Regions from separate parts of the Homo sapiens genome. Here region 2 is linked to region 1. Evidence: promoter capture Hi-C in 16 types of primary human blood cells and fetal thymus (Javierre and others, 2016). All regions are on one chromosome and are shown on one strand. The core of a region is centred on a gene start or on the middle of the fragment in contact, and the rest is flanking DNA. Distances in the headings are between cores, read along the strand shown. Region 1 holds the start of ABLIM1 (actin binding LIM protein 1). Region 2 overlaps AFAP1L2 (actin filament associated protein 1 like 2).

What was found. Contacts are between HindIII fragments. The CHiCAGO score rates a contact against its expected background, and 5 or more counts as called.
Region 2: a contact is called between a fragment that was not itself captured here and the fragment with the promoter of ABLIM1 in region 1, in 1 of 17 cell types (non-activated CD4 T cells). The highest score is 6.3, in non-activated CD4 T cells.

Annotation. Positions count from the first base shown.
Region 1 is chr10:114,656,894-114,659,844 of GRCh38, reverse strand. It overlaps ABLIM1 (actin binding LIM protein 1), which reads left to right and starts at 1,570. Exons shown (of 23, transcript NM_002313.7): 1 at 1,570-1,888. The coding sequence starts at 1,645. The HindIII fragment of the contact is 14,035 bases long and covers 1-2,951 here.
Region 2 is chr10:114,395,797-114,398,837 of GRCh38, reverse strand. All of the region lies in intron 1 of AFAP1L2 (actin filament associated protein 1 like 2), which reads left to right. Among named protein-coding and RNA genes, the nearest start is that of AFAP1L2, 7.2 kb to the left of the region's middle. The HindIII fragment of the contact is 190 bases long and covers 1,296-1,485 here.

The DNA.
Region 1 (2,951 bases), core at 321-2,820:
GACCCGGCTCCACCCTAGGCTCTCTGCATTGTCCTGAGAAAGTCACATCTTCTCTGAGACTCACCTTCCTCATCTTAAAGGCTGGCGTAGATCAGTGCTTCCTGAGTGCTGGCACTAGTCTGGGAGAATGTTTAGAAATGTAAATGATGAGTTAATGGGTGCAGCACACCAACATGGCACATGTATGCATATGTACCTGCACATTGTGCACATGTATCCTAGAACTTAAAGTATAAAAAAAGAAAAGAAATGTAAGTTCCTGACCTTTACGTGCAAGAATCCCGTATATATATATTTTGTATTTTTCAAAAGTTCTACAGATTTTTTGTTTTGAGACAGAGTCTTGCCCGGTCACCTAGGAGTACAGTGGCACAATCATAGCTCACTGTAACCTCAAACTCCTGGACTCAACCAATCCTCCTGCCTCAGCCTCCCGAGTAGCTGGGACTACAGATGCATGACACCACACTTGGCCAATGTTTTAATTTTTTTTTTTTTTTCTGTAGAGACAGAGTCTTGCTATGTTGCCAGGGCTGGTCTCGAAGTGGCCTCAAGCAATCCTCCCACCTCAGCCTCCCAAAGTGCTAGGATTACAGACGTGAGCAACCGCACCTGCAGATGGTTCTTATGCACAGCAATATTTGGGAACTACTGGACTAGATTACCTTTGATGGCCTTGTCAGCTCTATAATTCTATTCTAGGGTTTTAATGAAAAGGAATTTATATTAGAACATAATAGCCCAATGACAGGAGAAGGAGTGTGAGTTTATTCATTTTGACTTGGGACTTTTGTATGGTTGTAGACGGTCACATTTTGTACTGCATCTTACTGTGTGGATGTTAAAGAGTAAATGATAATTACTGGGGTTGTCCTTTTTATATCAATACACTAATTCCATGAAGGTCCTTCTAGCTTGTAACTTTGTGTAAAGCTGAAGCTACCTACATGTTAATTCTGTCTCCATCATATGATTCTGCCATCACAGAAAACCCATGAAACATTACGACAGTAAACATTGGCTTAATGGAATGAGGCAGAAGGATTTTCCTGGTACTGAGGGGAGGGGTCCCCTTCTAGAAAATGGAAAGGAAATGATCGTTTACTATGGCTGAGAGCTGGATTTGTCACGAATTGAAGCTGAGGATCTTTATCGAGCCTTCCCCACCTCCACCTGTGAGATCTGAAATACTGGAAAACTTGGAATTATTACCCTGGGATTTTTCTGATAGACATTTTTAGATTATATAAAATATGTGTATATATCCCTAGCCCTATTCTCAGTACTCTTACCAGATGATACTGAATATTCTAGGAGTATTTGCAGGAGAATTCTTTTAGATATTGCAGTTATATTCTTTCTCTTATTCTGGATATTAATCTGATTTTCAAATATGCATTCATGTCTGAGACTGAAAGTCTCGAGTTCCTGGTAGTGGCTGTTTTTATACCTAGTCATCTGACTGAGAATATGGTGCCCTAAGCTCTTGAGGGTAATCACTTAAATACATCTCCCTTAATCTTCTTTGCTGGGCAGTGAGAAAAGGAGACAGTAAGGAGCCAGGGGAACAGAGAGAATTGTGGGGCAGCACCGCTCCTTGGGTCCCCACTCCCCATTTCTCATTGCTTGGAAATCCATGCCAAGATGCCTGCCTTCCTTGGTCTAAAGTGTCTGGGGAAATTGTGCAGCTCTGAGAAAAGCAAAGTCACCTCATCTGAGAGAACCAGTGCCAGGGGCTCGAACAGAAAGAGACTGATTGTTGAGGACCGGAGGGTCTCTGGGACCTCCTTCACCGCTCATAGGCGTGCCACTATCACTCATTTGCTGTATCTCTGTCCCAAGGACTACTGCCCACGTGGGCGTGTATGTAACAGCGTTGATCCTTTTGGTAAGTAAAATAACCCTCTCTGGACATGGTTTTGTGTTTTGTGATTGGCGTAATTAAGAGAGTACTATCCAGATCATTCTTCTGTAATGTGTTCTTCAAAGGAAACACTATCCTTAATATATAATTAATGGGGGTGAGGGTGGGAGAGATGGAGAATGTAACATAAGTGTAGCTACGGAGCTAAATCCCAAGGATATTTTTGTCCAGGATTTTATGATCTTCAGTAACAAATGTATCTCTTTCCAAACTTGGTATGAATAATTGTCAGTAATAGGAAGTATGATGGAAAAGAAAGATCTCTATCTGTAGATGTTATTATTTCATATGACAAAGGATGAATGGAAAGGAAATATTCAAGGGGGGAGATGGAGGCTAGCAAAAGATAAGTAAAGTTGAGGTCCAAATTGTGTCACTGTGTAGGGAGGGCTCGTCTTGTGAAATGTTCTAAAAAAGAAATAAAATAAAAAGAAAGTGTTTTAATATTGAGAGAACTTGTTGAGGCTTCTTTTCAGTGAAGCTCATTAAAACGTGTCACTCATCCCTCTGCCTGGGAAAGAGGTGGAGAAGGCCCACTCTGAGGATAGAGTTATTGCACTTGGGAGTTTTCAGACTTTGAAGTTATCATGGTGCCTTTGTTAATGAAGATGATACCTACCCAACTGCTCACACCTTGTCAAAGTCAGACCTAGAATTGGTACAGGAAGCAGAAGGCAATTAACCATGGTCCCTACGAATGTATGAAGTTAAGTCAAATAAGCCAGGAAGCATAACGCATTCCTCGTCATTCTTGGACAGCCAGAGTTGAATTGGATTCAGTTTAGCTGAAGTACTGGAGTTAAGATGTTCTGTTTTGTTGCAATCAGCTTTCAACAGCTTTATTGAGTTATAATTCATATGCTGTAAAATTCATCCATTTAAAGTCTATAGTTCAGCGAGTTTTAGTATGCAACTGATATGTTACATATATATTTTCATTGCCTCAAAAAGAAACCCTGTACCCTTTAGCTATCGCCTCCCCACCCCAACCTCTTCATCCCCATCTCTCAGCCTTAAGAAATCAAAA
Region 2 (3,041 bases), core at 141-2,640, 260 kb after region 1:
TGTCTGTGCCCTCTGCAGCAGCTCACCTGGCCTCCAGGGCTCCCGAGGGTGCAGACCTGGCTCTGCCCATGCTCTGGGTGGATGGTTGAGGGAGATCAAGGAGCTGGGCACCGGCCTGGGCACTCAGGGGCTCGGGATTCTAATCTGGCTTTTGCCACTAACTCGCTATGCGACCTTGGGCAAGTCAATTAATCTTTCTCAGCCTTGTTTCCTCATCTGTATGAGTGAGAATAATGATTACTAATCTACCTTGCAGGCCACTTGGTGGAATAACTTGTAAGAGCTATTGGTAAAGACTTTGAGAAAGAGAATGTTAAATTAACGCAGGGGAGCAGATACCCTGAAACCTCTGGCATGTGGTTCTGATCCCACCAGTTCCTGCCTTTTCACAGTTCACTGGGCTCTGCCCACTGTGTGCTTTTCAATGCTGTTGGGAGATATAAGTTGGGGCTTCTCAGCCTCTAGGCATCCTAGCTTCTCAGAGATAGCATCTGTGTATTCTTCATGTCAGTGGAGAAAGAGATAGGTGACGAACTGCTCATTTGTTATGTGTAGAGCTACATCCTAGCCCTGCCTGACTTTTCTCTGATGTCTCATTAAGTCCACATAGGAGAGACCCTTAAATTCAAATAGTAGCTTTGAGCCCTTTCCTAATTTTCTATCACTCGACTCTCATATTCTCCCCAGTTAGTTTCAAAAAACAAACTAACCACAAACTGCATTGAGCGGGGAGAAGGGAGAATGTGTAGAAAAACAGGAGGAGCCTGCCTCCCCCTGGACGCGTTGCATTGGACTGATGCAAAAACACAGTGAGGCCAGGGAACACGGATCTCACATCTCTCAGGGGAGTCTGGTATTAGGGAGGAGTGGGGAGAGGCACCCATGCCAGTAGAAATCCTGTTCTGCTGTTTTCTAAGCAGGCCCCTGAGTTCTCTTCTCACTTCCTGGAGCTCCTCCCAGGACTTCAAAGGCAGATACAGTCCTGGTGGACTGTGGTGAGCTTGTACGGAAGCTCAGCCCCAGCACACTGCAAATCAGCCTTCTGCTGGAGATTAAAGCAAGAGAGGCTAGCCAGCTGTTAGCTCAGAGACAGCAACCACTGTGTACCAGGAAGAATCCAAGCTGGGTGAATGTACAGTCCTACCCTTGGAGGTAGCTTTCCCAAATTGAATGACCAGCCTTCCGGGCTTGCTTGGGACTTTCCTGGTTTTACCACTGAAAGTCTGGTGTCCCAGGAATCCCCTTAGTCCTGGGCAAACTGAGATGGTGAGTTGCCCTATTACCGGACCTAAGCTTTAGTAAAAGTTTCTGAATCAAGAGTTTGATTTCTCCATAGCAAACATGAGCTGGAACCAATTATTTTGTCTCTTTGACAAGAAAGTGAAAGTCCAAGGCTTAAAAACTGGCAGATCGTAACTTACCACTAGTGATACACACCAGTATGCTAAGTGAAAGAAGCATACTGCTATTCAAGATTCAAAAGCTTGCACACTGAATGATTCTATTTATATGACTTTCTGGAAAAGGCAAAACTATAGGGAAACAGATCAGTAGTTGCCAGGACTGGGACTGGGGGAAGGCGTGAGCCACAAAGGGCGTGAGGGAAATTTTTGGAATGATAGAGATGTTCAGTATCTTCATTTTGGTAGTGGTTACACAGCCATACATACTTGTCACAATTCAGAACTGTGTAGTTAAAAGGGCTTTTTTTTTTTCTGTGTGTAAATTAACCTCAATAAAGCTGACTTTTAAAAACACTCTAGCAGTTGTGATGCTGTGGTATAAGATGAAGGTTCAAGGTCAAGGTTGGGTATCATGGGTTGTAATTAGCAACTGAGTCTTGGTGTGGGTGTGTCTGCAATGGTTCTGGAGGTGTATGCAGCAGAAAAGGGTGAGAAATTTGGTACAAAACAAAAAGGCCAAGGGCTCATGCCTGATGACATCCTAAATGCCAGAGACTTTTTCATTAGGCACAATCAGTGTGATAGTGGAAGCTCTCCCTCTGTTTAGAGAAAAGGCAAAAGCAGCTCCCCTAAAGGCCAGGCAGCCAACAAGCCCAGGAGGACCATGGAATATAAGAGCATTAGACTCAGGTTCCCACCCTGGGAACTCTGCTGCTACCCACACATGGATCTAATGTACTGGCTTTGGCAGCCTGTCTGCAAGTCTTTTTTTTCTACCAATAAAGTTATTGTATTAGAATTGAGTAATCAAGTCTGCAGGATAATTATTTCCTGGTTGACTTTTTGTTTTTGGCAGTCCTGCTTGTCTATGCTAGCTAGGATTGATTTTGAGGGGAAGAACCCATGATTTATCGAAATAACACACCCAGTCGCATTTGATGTAAAGAATCAGTCCTCTTATTTCTAGACAAGGAGAAGCCTTCTGATGCAAGGGCAGAATTACCAGTCGTCACTGCACCAGGCCAGCGGACAGGATGTGGAAGTCCCCAAGAAGGAAGAAGTATCACTCTGGGTGATCTGAATGGACTCTTAAGATCTTGGTGTTTTCCTTTTTATTTATTTATTTGTTTTTTAATCAAAGCCCATGTTGAATTTGCCTGTTCTTCAGGTGAATTTTGTCTGGCTCTGTACCCTGGGAAGCTGGGTCTGTGTCTGCATCTCTATTAAGCACAGCCTGTTGGAAGGCTGTGGAACTTCCATCCGTGAGGACTACATGGGCTGAGGTCATGTTCAACCATGAATTATACAGGAGAATTTCCCACATGCAACTTTTTAAAATCACAAACACATCCAAGCCACTAGTCACCCACAAAGGCAGGTCTCTTCCACCTGTTCCAGGGTTTTCTGGAAGAATTACAGACTCATAGCCAGTGCAATCCTTAGTTCTAATTGTCTTAGTTTTGTTGGGGGAAAGCATTGATGTTAGAGAGGCAGGCAGTGTTTTTGTGCATATTTGAAGTGAAATTTCCCTGATGCAGGGTCAGGCCTGGCTTGTGGCTGGTCTACCTAAGAAGGGTCGGGTTTGGGGCAGCCCCAAGGCCCGCGTCTGGTTTGAGTGCAAGGGAGAAGCTGGGAGCT